Linked DNA regions of Homo sapiens: region 1 is linked to region 2. Evidence: promoter capture Hi-C in human tissues and cell types (Jung and others, 2019). All regions are on one chromosome and are shown on one strand. The core of a region is centred on a gene start or on the middle of the fragment in contact, and the rest is flanking DNA. Distances in the headings are between cores, read along the strand shown.

Region 1 (6,494 bases), core at 2,022-4,521, 220 kb before region 2:
TTCTGAATTTTTCATGGTTCCTCAAACACATCATGACCTTTTGTGACTCTGGGCCCATGCCCAGATACGTTTGGAATACCTTTGTGCCTTGGTCAATGCCCACCTCACCTTAAAAATGCTGCTTAAATGCTATCTCCTCTGCGATGCCTTTGCCAGATCTCTCAGGTGGTATTGGTCATTTACCACTCAGAACCCCTATAGCACTTTACTCATACTTTCAGCCTAGCACTGATCACATTATGATCACATTACATTCTATGTAAATGTTTGTGTTCCCCACTGAATTCCTTGTAGAAAGGCCAATATCATACTCATGACTATATTACCATATGCCAGCTTGGTATATGGCACAAAGCAGGAACACACTGACCAACTGTTGAATGAACAAATGAATCTTAACTCCAGCTTCTTTGGGTAAATGCCTTACTAGAGCAGTACAATCCTGAACAAACCAGCCCAATAGCAAGAGCATGGTGCATGAGGCCCTCTCAGAACTGACTTGCCTTTATCTTTCAGAGATAGGGCAATGTCCCCCACGGTGATAAGGCCTGGATGAGCCAATTACACCCCTACAGGCCCTGAAAACCCACTATGGACAAATGAAGATGAATAGCACAACTATGAACCCACAGGAAGAGGACAAAAAAATCACCTACTACTTCTTGCCTGCTTCAGATTTATCTGTATTAAAGAAATTTACTGTATGTAAATACAAAACAATCAAATACATACACAAGGACAGTATTTTAGCTCATTCATTTCATAAGTCATAGAAAACAATGTTTTTATTGTTTTTATGAAGTACGAATTGCTGCTTCTTAGCAAGCTGACATCTGCTCAATCCAACTAGAGAAAGTGGCTATGCATGTTTCCTTAAAGAGCAGTAGTTTGTAGCTCTATTTTTCAACAAAAAGAAGTTGAATCAGTAAATCTGCAACTGTCCAACATAAATGGGTCATAAATTTAACTAGAAATCCTTCCTCAAAGGGGGAAGGAAAACTGTTAAAAATATGAGACATGAAATAGCGGCCAAAGCTTTAAAAAACACTTGGCCCAGCAACACCAACTCTATTAACTGGCCACACCTATGTTTACTAATTCATATTGTGAAAAAGTTGGCATCTCTATTCCTGAATTTTGCCCCACAAAACTTGGTTTTCACATTTTTTCTACTATGAGCAAACACTGGTTTTATCATTAGGTAGCAGCTCCAACTCCTATCACTAAATACAATATACTGCACATCATGATTGGAATGATGGCAACTACAAGATACACTGCAATTTGGCCAACTGTGTCCATTCACACTTCATCTCTCTCTGCCTATCCGCTTTTCCATATGCTTTTTCTGCCGAGTTTCTTTTCCTTTTTATGATCATTTTTCATTTTGTTCTTACTTCATATTAAATTACATTTGTGACACATCTAGTTAATCCTGGAAGTTTCCAGATGTCAATAAAAACAAAACAAAGACCTTCCCCAGCCAACTTCCACTTTTAGAATCCTCTGCCTTCATTTTCCTCAGTGTTGGAAGCACAATGAAGGTGAAGCAATATAACCCACAAGTCTGATCAGCTGGTTCCAACAGGGAGGTTGCTCCAAAGAGCTTAAACAAGGGGTCAAATGAAATGGATCCATTTCCTCTCAACACCATTCAAAGAAACAGAGTAACATACAACTCTACAATATAAAGGGCTGGTGGGAATAATTCTACTTATTGTTTCCTCTAGACTAGATAGAAATAGATCCAGAACAGTAAGGAATATTAATGTTTTTTAGCGGGGAAACAGAACCTCACTCTGTCGGCCAGGCTGGAGTGCAGCAGCACGATCTTGGCTCACTGCAACCTCCGCCTCCTGCGTTCCAGCGATTCTCCCACCTCAGCCTCCCACGTAGCTGGGACTACAGGTGCACGCTACCGCACCTGGCTAATTTTTGTATTTTTAGTAGAGACGAGGTTTCACCATGTTGGCCAGACTGGTCTCGAACTCCTGACCTCAAGTGATCCGTCTGCCTTGGCCTCCCAAAGTGCTGGGATTGCAGGCATGAGCCACCAAGCCCTGCCAGTTAATGTTAATTAACAGTACCGAGTCAGGCGCCGTGGCTCACGCCTGTAATTCCAGCACTTTGGGAGGCCGAGGCAGGCAGATCATGAGGTCAGGAGATCGAGACCATCCTGGCTAACACGGTGAAACCCCGTCTCTACCAAAAATACAAAAGACTTAACCGGGCATGGTGGCAGGTGCCTGCAGTCCCAGCCACTCGGGAGGCTGAAGCAGGAGAATGGCATGAACCCAGGAGGCAGAGCTTGCAAGGAGCCGAGATCGTGCCACTGCACTCCAGCCTGGGCAACAGAGCAAAACTCCCTCTCACCAAAAATAAATAAATAAATAAATAAAATAAAAAAATAAAAAGTATCTGCACTCTCATATTCACTGTGGTAGTATTTATAATAGGTAATATATGGAAAAAGCTTAAGTGTCCTTCATGGACAAATGGATGAAGAAAACACACACACACAGACACAACAGAAAAAAAGGATAATTATTCAGCTTAAAAAAGGAGATCTTGCCATTTGCCACAACATGGATAGACCTAGAGGACATTATGCTAAGAGAAATAAGATAGACACAGGGAAAAAACATATTGTGTGATCTCACTTATATGTGAAGTCTTTTTTTTTTTTTAAAGGTCAAATATACAAAGGTAGAGAATAAAGCAGTGGTTACCATGGGCTGACAAGCAGTGTGGGGGTGTGAGGGAGGGAAAATGGGGTTATAGGATACACAGCAGACATGTAGGATGCAAATCTAGAGCTGCAATTGTTATGTCATGAGGATTACAGTTAATAAAATGGTATCATATTATGGATTTTTGTTAAGTAGATTTTAGCTGCTCTTGTCACAAAATAGTAACTGTGAGATGATAGATGTGTTAATCTATTATAGTAACAATATAAATACATGTATCCTATAACCTGTTGTAAACTTCAAATATACACAATAAAATTTATTTATTTATTTAGTTAGTTAGTTTTTTGAGACAAGAGTCTTGCTCTGTCGCCCAGGCTGTAGTGCAGTGGTGTGATCTTGGCACACTGCAACCACCGTCCCCCAAGTTCAAGTGATTCTTGTGCCTCAGCCTCCCAAGTAGCTGGGATTACAGGCATGTGCCACCATGCCCAGCTAGTTTTTGTATTTTTAGTAGAGACGGGGTTTCACCACTTTGGCCAGATTGGTCTCGAACTCCTGACCTCAGGTGATCCACCCGCCTTGGCCTCCCAAAGTGCTAGGATTACAGGCGTGAGCCACCGCGCCTGGCCCAAGTGCAGATATGCATGATTTCATCTCCTCTGGGTACGTACATAATAGGGATTGCTGGGTCCTATGGTGGCTCTATTTTTAACTTCTTTAGGAACTTCCATACTGCTTTCCATAATAGCTATACCAATCTAGTTCCCAACAGCATACAAGGGTTCTCTTTTCTCTGCATCACTGTCAACATGTGCTATCTCTTGTCTTTTTGATAACAACCATCCTAATGGGTGTGAGATGGTATCTCACAGTGGTTTTAATTTGCATTTCCCTGACAATTACTGATGTTAAGCACCTTTTCAAATATCTGTTAGCCATTTTTATGTCTTCTTTGAAGAAACGTCTTATAAGGTCCTTACCCGGTTTTTAATCAGGTTATTTTTCTGCTACTGACTTCAAGTGTGCTTTATAAATTTTGAATATTAACTCCTTATGACATGCATGGTTTGCAAATATTTTTTCACAGTCTATAGAGTGCCTTTTTATTTTGTTGACTGTTTTCTTTACTATACACAAAGGTTTTTTGTTTCATGTAGCTCCATTTACTTATTCTTCCTTTTGAAGTTTGAGTTTTTGGTGTGAAATCCAAAAAAAATCACTGCCATGAGCAATGTCAAGGAGCTTTCCTTATATTTTCTCATAGTTTTTAAGGTTTCATATTTCACATTTAGGTCTTTTGTCTATTTTGAGTCGATCTTTATGTATTGTCTAAGATAGGAATCCAATTTTACATGTGAAAATCCAGTTTTCCCAGTACCACTTATTGAAGAAACTATCTTTTCCCCACTGGTGCCCTTGTCAAAAATTAGTTAATAATATATGTTTGAATTTACTTCTGGGCTCTCTACTCTGTTCCATTGGTCTATGTTTCTGTTTTTACGCCAGCACCATATGGTTTTGATTGCTTATAGCTTTGTAATACTATTTTAAACCAAGAAGTATGGTGCTTCCAATTTTCCCATTATTGCTTTCACTATTTGGGGTATTTTATGGTTCTTTACAAATTTTAGGATTGCTTTTTTATTTCTGTGAAGAATGCCACTGGAATTCTGATAGAGATTATGTATAAATCTGTACATTACTTTGAGCAGTATAAGTTTAAAAATACTAATTCTTCCCATCCATGAAGCTCCCTAGACTCAAGAGATCCTCTCGCCTCAGCCTCCCAAAGTGCTGAGATTATAAGCATGAGCCACAGCACCTAGCCAAGATTATTTTCTTAATTTCTTTTCCGGCTAGGCTGTTATTTGTGTATAGGAATACTACTGATTTTTGTATGTTGACCTCGTAGCCTGCAACTTTAATGAATTTATTAGTTCTAACAGGTTTTCTTGTGAAATTTTGGAGGGGGTTCTACATATAAGATCATGTCATCTGCAAATACAGATAATTGTACTTCTTCCTTTCCAATCTGGATGTCTTTTATTTCTTTTTCTTGTTTGATGTTCATTAGTGCTTCCAGTACTATGCTGAATGGAATTGGCAAGAGTAGGCATCCCTGCCTTGCATTAAATATTATTGGAAAAGCTCTGAGTTGCTCCCTGTTGATTGTTAGCTATGGGTTTTTTCATATATGGCTTCTATTATATGCAGGAGCTTTCCTTCCACAGCTAAACTGTTAAAGAGTTTTTATCAAGAAAGAATGCTCAACTTCTTCAAATGCTTTTTCTGCGTCAATCAAGGTGTTCATGTGATTTTCAGGTTTCATACTGCTAACATGATCTATCACATTGATTAATGTGTATATATAAAGTCAGCCTCATATGCCAGGAATAAATTCCACCTGGTCGTGATGTATATCTTTTTGATATGTGTTGAATTCAGTTTCCTGAATTTTTTTTGGAGGATTTCTGCATCAATGTTCAAAGATATTATTAGCCTATGGTTTTCTTTTCCTCTGGCGTCTTTGTCTGGCTTAGGCCTTGTAAAATGTGTTTGGTTTAGATTCTTGTTGGAAGTAGGTTGGTATAAACACATATATAATTACAATTTACATGCAGACATTCAGCAACATATTATGAAATTTCTAATCTAGAAAAAATAAATTGCAAAAATGACTGAGAAGAGAAAATGGAGCCATGTTATACAACCACCTAATTAAAAGATTACCTCTTCTCACCAAAGTAAATGAATTATCAAAGCTATTCCAGAAATGCAAAATGTAATAAGCAGTCATACAAGCCAGAAAAACAGTAAAAAACAGTAGGTGCACAGATGGTTAGATGGAAAGGTGGATGGACGGAAGGATGGAAAGAATGGCTAGAGAAGGGTGAGTAAAGGGAGCGGGAAAAAGGAGTCGGCGGGGAGTATGGGGGAAGAGAGGGAGGGGAAGCAAGAAAGGATAGATTTTAGGGAGTAGGGATAGCATAATAAGAAAGTTGATGTTTTGGGGTAAAAACCTTCAGAAACCAGTATCAACTTGGCTGGTTTCACTGTGAACATCATAACCTTGAACTTAGAGCACAGACTTAGGCACTCCCTCCCCTTCTCACTTTGGTACATATAGGCTGCCCTTAATTTCCTATTACACTAAATTATTACTATAATAAAATGTTTTCATAACTTGAATTCATTCTAGTCCAGTCAGATAAAGGGGGCATGCATGATCTGTATCTTTTTGGTCTGTGTCCAATTCACTACTAACAGAGAACCTGGCACATAACACACAAGTGCCACATAAACGTACTTCGAAATACCCAACTGGGCTCTCTCACCCTCCCATGACCTGCAGGAACTGCCCGTTCTCCCTTCCTGGGACAGGACCATGCTTCTCCTTGCTCTTTGCACTTTACATAAACTAACTTATTTAATTCTCATAACAAACCCATAATGTAAAAAGTATTACTATATCTATCTATATGAGAAAACCAAGGCAGAGAGAAGTTAAAGAACTTGATCAAGATCACACAACTAGACAGTGGTAGGATTAGGATAGGAAATCCAGCAGTTTGACTTCAGAGTCCACACTCTTTGTAATCATTCTGTGCAGCCTCCTGTGATTTCCCAATGCCTCCTGTGCTACTGTGTAGCTATTACGTATGTATGTATGGAAACCTATTATGGTACTTATTCAAACAAATTAACATTATTTTTCTTCTTCCTATAAAATCTCTCACCCTAACATCTAACAAAAGGCCTAACACATGGCACATATTTAATCAAGGTTTCTAAAGTAATAAT
Region 2 (6,509 bases), core at 2,600-5,099:
AATTTTTCAGGGTGTTTCTCTCCTTTTTTTTTTTTTTTTTTTTGTGACAGGGTCTCACCCTATTGCCCAGGCTGGAGTGCAGAGGTGCAATCATAACTCAATGTAGCCTAGAGCCTCTGGGCTCAAATGATCCTCCCTCCTCATTTTCCTGAGTAGCTGGGACCATAGGCATGTGCCACCATACCTGGCTAATTTTTAAATATTTTTGTAGAAGATGGGGTCTCACTATGTTGCCCAAGCTGGTCCCAAACTCCTGGCCTCAAGTGATTCTCCCCACCTCGGTCTCCCAAAGTGCTGGAATTACAGGTGTGAGCCACCACACCTAGCCTATGGATTCTTTTTTACAGAGTTCAGGTCACACTGTGTGTATACTTTCATATTTGATGTTTAAGCACTGTGTACTGACCTAACAACTGTTAGAAAAGTGTCTTTGTAACATTGGTCTGGTGACGAGACTTGAGCTGTAGCTGTGCTACCTGCTGGAAGAGGCAGAGGGGACCTTCTTTGGCTCATGATTTCACCAACATTGGGGACCAAGCAAGTGTTGCCCAACTTGGGAAAGTGTCAAGACCTGCCTTCCATCCAGAGGAGGTTCTATCCGGACACCAGCCAAGGTGAATGAGAGATTCCATGGACATAGTCCTGCATACGGAAGGTCCTAGTTCCATATTAGAATCCATATTAAAATCCTTCTGATATGAATAGATCACATTTCCATCTCATCATTAAAGAAGACACTACCTTTATTTAGTCACTTAAAATGATAAGAATATACTTCATGATGAAGAGTAAAATCACTAGGAAGGGACAGGAGTGGTGACTCATGCCTGTAATCCCAGCACTTTGGGAGGCCAAGGTGAGCAGATGGCTTGAGCCCAGGAGTTTGAGACCAGGCTGGGCAACATGGTGAGACCCCATTTCTACAAAAAATACAAAAGTTAGGCAGGCATGGTAGTGCATGGCTATAGCCCCAGCTACTGGGGAGGCTGAGGTGGGAGGCTCACCTGAGCTCAGGAGGTCAAGGCTGCAGAGAGCACATGCCACTGTGCTCCAGCCTGGGTGACAGAGTAAGACCCTGTCTCAAAATAAAAAAAGAAAAATCACTAGGAAGGTGGGATAATGGGAGAATCCTAGTTGAAATATAGCTATACCCATCTTAATAATGTACCATGTATACACAGATGTGTGTATTTAGGCACCTGAACTTGTGTATATAATAATATTAAACTGAGAGCTTGCCTGCTTCAATCTTTGCTGACATTTGCTAAGGGATAGAATTCAAGGTGATATAAGAATTCTCTGTCACCTGGAGCTAGAGAAATCTGTACAACTCCTGCAATTAACTCTCAGGAAAGAGTAGGCCATATTTCTATTAATAGGGTCCACCCCTCAGAATCAAATCACAGTGGAATCACTTTTAAAGAGGTCAGAATTTGTCCATAGAGGAGAATCATTCAGCTTTGCTTTTTGACTCATTCCACGTGACTCAAGGGGCCAGCCTCTCATTCTAATGCCTCTAGGGACACTTGTTTGCTAAGACACATTATCTGCACAGAAAAGGGCCTCCTAAGTCAAGGCTGGGGAACATCGAGCCATTGGGAATGCCATGCTTGGTCTAGTGACTCCCAAGGGACTCCAGCTGAGGGGGCTGTCGCCCTCTGTTACTCCTTCTATGAGCCTTTCATGGACTCCTTCACTCTCCTCATTTCTACTTATTTTTCCCTGGGAGTCGGCTTCAGCTCTCTTTTTAAATTCTGAATTATCTTGCCTGTTTCCAGGGTTCCAACTACCTATGGAATTGTGGCTTCCTAATTTATATCTCTAGCCCAGGCTTTCCTCAAATTCCAGACCCTCTTATCCACAGAATACTCCAGATTTCTACCTTAAAGTTGTCACCAGCACCACCTGTTCACCAAATCCCCAAACTTACTCTTCTCCCTGTGTTATTTTTATCTCAGTGGCACCAAGAGTCTGCCAAGCTTGAAAGCTGGAAGTCACCACTGATTCCTCCCTCACTCCATCCTCACTCTGTTCACTAAATCCTGTTGAATTCACCCAGATGGTCATTCAGTGAGTACATTTCAAGCACCTGCTATGTGCCAGGCATTGTGTTAGGTATCTACTGCGAAGCAAAAATAGACAAGGTCCTTGCCCTCGTGGCTTACAGTCCAGCTGGGGAAACAATATCATGAAGGAAATGTATCCTAAGTTAAGAGAGTGTTTAGTCTGGGAGACAGAGAAGGCTTCCCCAAGAAAGGGGGAGATCTAAAGGGTGCCTTAAGAATTAAATGGATGAAAGTCATAGGTGGGGAGTTCAATTTCTAAGCAGGCAGAACGTCCTGTGTATGAGCTCTGAATGAGGTGGAAGGAATGAGGAATGTCCTTCAAGGGACTAAGGAACGGCCTCTGGAAAGTGAGTGGTCTTCCAGGAAGGCCATCGTGGCTGAGGGGTAATGAATTGCAATAATACTAGGATGGGAGAGGAGAGTGGGGAAGTGGGAGAGGCCCCATTGCTCAGCACCTGGTAAAGATTTTGGTCCTTTTTTTGAGAGGACAGAGAAGACTTTTAAGGTGAGTGGGATGATGGGTGGGGAAGGTTGAGGAATGACAGATTTCTATATGAAAGTCGCTGTGGCTACAATGTGGAAAATGGATTAGATGGGGCCTGGGCAGAGGTGGGGGAAGGCTTTCCCATTGGCTTCCTCCTTGCCATCCCCATAGCCATGATCCCCAGTCCAGATTTTTGTTGTCTCTTCTTGTCTTGCAGCAGAAAACCCCACTACTATTGTCCCTAGCAACTTACCTTCAGTGTGGCTGTCTCACTTCTGACAAAAGAAAAGAAAATCAACAATCCTTCGTTGGGCTCAAAATAAAGTTCAGAGTCCTTAGTCTGGCTACAGGTCCCTTCAAACCTGGCCCTTGTCTCCCTCACCAGTGTCACATCCAACCACTTGTCATCAATACCTGAGCTCTAGTTCATACAAGGGAGACTCGAGAGCTGGACCGCAGTTTGAGGTGAAAGGACCAGAGGAGTAGAGGCACCGAGAGCCAAATCTGAGGCCGAATCAGAGGTCTAGGATGTTAACTGAACAGAAAGTAAAGGAAACTGGCCGAAGCGGGGGTTTCAGGCAGTTGGCTTCCAGCATCTTCAGGCGGTTGGCTACAAGAACATCAAAGACCAACATTTGGGAAGCACTCAGGGACAAGACATCCGGAGGCTTGGATGCAAGACCAAAGGTGTAGTTGATGGGAGGTAGTTCCCCAGGACAGGCCCCCGAGGACTGACAGATGGGAGCTTAAGGACAGGACCCCCAACCAGTAGAGAAATGAGGTTCCCGAACAGCCATGACCACAGCTGGCGCAGAATGGGCAGGACTCAGAGACTTGTAACTCAGAAGGTCAAGGACAATGGCTGACTTGAGGATGACTTGGTAGGAGGAGAATGATGAGAACATTCTTTATATTCTACCTGTCTGGAGACAGAATGAATTCTAGAACAAAAGGAGCAAGGCCAAGCTTCCAATCAAGGCTAGAGCTAGAAGGTCATGGAGAAAGGCGTGGGCAGCTCCTGCCTTCGCCTGCACCAAGTTCAACAAACACACAGTCATAGCCATGGCTGGTCCCCAGAGCACACACAAGGCAAGGATGTTAGTGGCCAGCCCCATGCACCCCGATGAGCTATGCTCGCTTGGGAGACCCATCCTCCTTGAAGGTGAGTGAAATCTCAACACGAGTATGGTTCTGAGAGTAGCTCTGTAACTCTGAGGATGGTCTCTGGAGACCATGACTGTGTACAGTTCACATGGTAACCAGAAGACTATGACATACTTCAGAAGGTGGTGAGGTCATAGAACACAAGCTTTAAAGTAAGTGAATCATGTGTGCCTCATTTATTTTTAAAAGCAACTTCTGAGAAGGGCTTAGAACAAATTTTTTCCCGGAGTGCCATTTCCCAAAGGTACTCACAGAACAATCAGGTGTGACCATAATGGCTGCACTGAGTTGTCTCTTGGACAGTGTCAGAAGGGACATAAAGAAGGTGGACAGAGAACTAAGGCAACTGAGATGCATCGACGAATTTAGCACACGGTGCCTGTGCGACTTGTATATGCACCCCTATTGCTGCTGTGACTTGCACCCATATCCGTACTGCTTGTGCTATTCCAAGCGATCACGCTCTTGCGGCCTGTGTGATCTCTACCCATGTTGCCTGTGTGATTATAAGCTTTACTGTCTGCGACCATCTCTCAGAAGTTTGGAGAGGAAAGCCATCAGAGCCATAGAAGATGAGAAGCGAGAGCTTGCCAAGTAAAATAACTTATTTTTAAATTTTTATAGTCGGTATATTAGCCTTATAAGTTGGAATAAGGAAAAATATGTGACAATCAATAGTTGAACAAAGATTAAAAGGGTTCAGGATAATGACCCTGGTGACTTAGGAAAGATTTAAGGAAAGAAGAGTAAATGAGTCCATGATGGGAATTGTAGGGTTCTCAAAAGACAATGTAATGATGTCGATTGGCAAGGTCGTCGGTGGTTTATAGCAAGAATGCCAGTATGATAAATAATGCGGCTTTAATGAAGGGAAGAAACAGGGGGTGTCATTAAAAAGCCATTGGAAGCAGCAAACTAAACATTTTTCCTGGTTATGAGTAAAGTGATTTGAGTATATTTGGACTTACAGAAATGACTACAGGAGAAGTAATAATAATAGATCAAATCCTTAATGTGTGCCAGAGGCTTTACAAGCAGGAGAGCAAATTGAACAGTAGAGGCATTGCCTTGGTTTTGTGGGAATATCATTCTCCTATCCCCCCACTCCAGGCAAAGACTTACCTTGTATCTGGAATTAGGTCTATCATGTTGGCCTCCCCTCTAACTCTAGCAAAGGTCTTGCAAATAAACTATGGCACTGAGTTGTAGCTTTCAGGATAGACTTGAAAGGCTTTTTAATTGAATTGGGTAATTAAAAAGAGTCAGTTTTTTAAAAAAATTTTTGTTTTAGATTATATTTTCTTTTTGCCTGGAGAAAACTTTCCTTTTCTAACTTTTTACATATGCCATTTAGTCTGTTACTGTTGATGAAAAAGATGGTTGAAAGTGCTGTCCCTGGTTAAATAAATAATACATTCATGCACTGGAATAATAAGTAAATATAGAAAGGATTGATGAAGCATCTTACATATTGATGTATTAAGTCAAACAAGCAAAGTGCAGAAAAACTGATAGACAGATGACAGATAGATAGATAGATAGATAGATAGATAGATAGATAGATGATAGATAGATAGAGTCTCTTGACAACAGTGACAGTGATGTTTCTTTGGAAAAAGCAATAGGAGGCCGGGTGCATTGGCTCATGCCAGTAATCCCAGCACTTTGGGAGGCGGAGGCGGGCAGATCACCTGAGCTCAAGAGTTCGAGACCAGCCTGGCTAACATGGTGAAACCCCATCTCTACTAAATACAAAAAAAAAAAAAAAAAAAAATTAGCCAAGCGTAGTGGCACGTGCCTGTAATCCCAGCTACTCGTGAGACTGAGGCAGGAGAATCACTTGAACCCAGGAGGCAGAGGTTGCAGTGAGCCAAGATTGCACCACTACACTCCAGACCGGGTGACAAAGTGAGACTGTCTCAAAAAAAAAAAAAAAAAAAGGATAATTATTGTCTAGGTCACCAGCCACCAATGGTCAGGAATGAACCTCCCTCATAGCCTGGGAGCTTTCACCTGTAAATTCATCTATACTCTTTGAACCAATGTTTGTTTTTATTTCTTAGGGCATCAAGTCACATAAATTGCTCACACTGTGAGGCAGGGACTCTTTTTAAAATATTTGGTCCAAGTTAAGGTTTCCTTGTGAGCAGATCAGTATCCACTCTCCTCCTACTTTTGGATACTTGAATACCCTTGTCCAGGTCTTTCCAGCCTCTGTCTTCCTGGCTTCTCTCCTATCCCCAGACTCTACCAATTAAAATCCCTCTCTGTCCTGTGCTGTCTACTCTCTTGATGCCTCTTTCAGAAGCCTTGTTTCTTGGCATGCAGTAGAAACAGCTTCAAGCTTAATTCTCGGCAGTGTAGTTTAGGCAAGAGGTAATGTTTTCTCTGGTTTGTGATGCTCTTCCTGACAGCGTCTGGGTCTTTGCCTATTTTTTCTCTGCCTGCAGGCAATATGTGAAGCTGGTGATGTCTTTACATTAATTTCTGGATCTCGGAAATGATAACTCCAAGTCCATTGTAGAAATGACCTCAGGCTTGTCCGCTTTATCTCTTCCAATTCACACCACCTTGTGAAATTTCTATGCTCTATTTCTGACAACTTGACATTTCACTCTCCAGAAGGGCTTAGTGTCACTTGCAAACCTAAATATTCAATTTTCCTGAATATGGGTGAAAATGTTAAACCCTGATTCTAGCCTCAGTCCCAGAAGGCCCCCAGTGTAGTATTTTTTCTTCTAGTGCAGTGCCTTTTATTCTTATCTCTAAGCTAGCGCCTGATCCATAACTAAATA

What was found. Contacts are between HindIII fragments. The study calls those that stand out against the background at their distance.
Region 1: a contact is called between a fragment that was not itself captured here and the fragment with the promoter of ODF1 in region 2, in 1 of the 25 tissues and cell types used here (lymphoblastoid cells).

What each region holds. Positions count from the first base shown.
Region 1 is chr8:102,332,527-102,339,020 of GRCh38, forward strand. All of the region lies in intron 9 of UBR5 (ubiquitin protein ligase E3 component n-recognin 5), which reads right to left. Among named protein-coding and RNA genes, the nearest start is that of UBR5, 77 kb to the right of the region's middle. The HindIII fragment of the contact is 3,034 bases long and covers 1,755-4,788 here.
Region 2 is chr8:102,547,740-102,554,248 of GRCh38, forward strand. ODF1 (outer dense fiber of sperm tails 1) reads left to right here and starts at 3,850. Exons shown (of 2, transcript NM_024410.4): 1 at 3,850-4,308. The coding sequence starts at 3,989. It overlaps LOC124901998 (a long non-coding RNA gene), which reads left to right. Exons shown (of 3, transcript XR_007061039.1): 2 at 1,959-2,070; 3 at 2,768-2,857. LOC105375684 (a long non-coding RNA gene) reads right to left here and starts at 2,889. Exons shown (of 2, transcript XR_928478.3): 1 at 2,804-2,889. The HindIII fragment of the contact is 1,295 bases long and covers 2,748-4,042 here.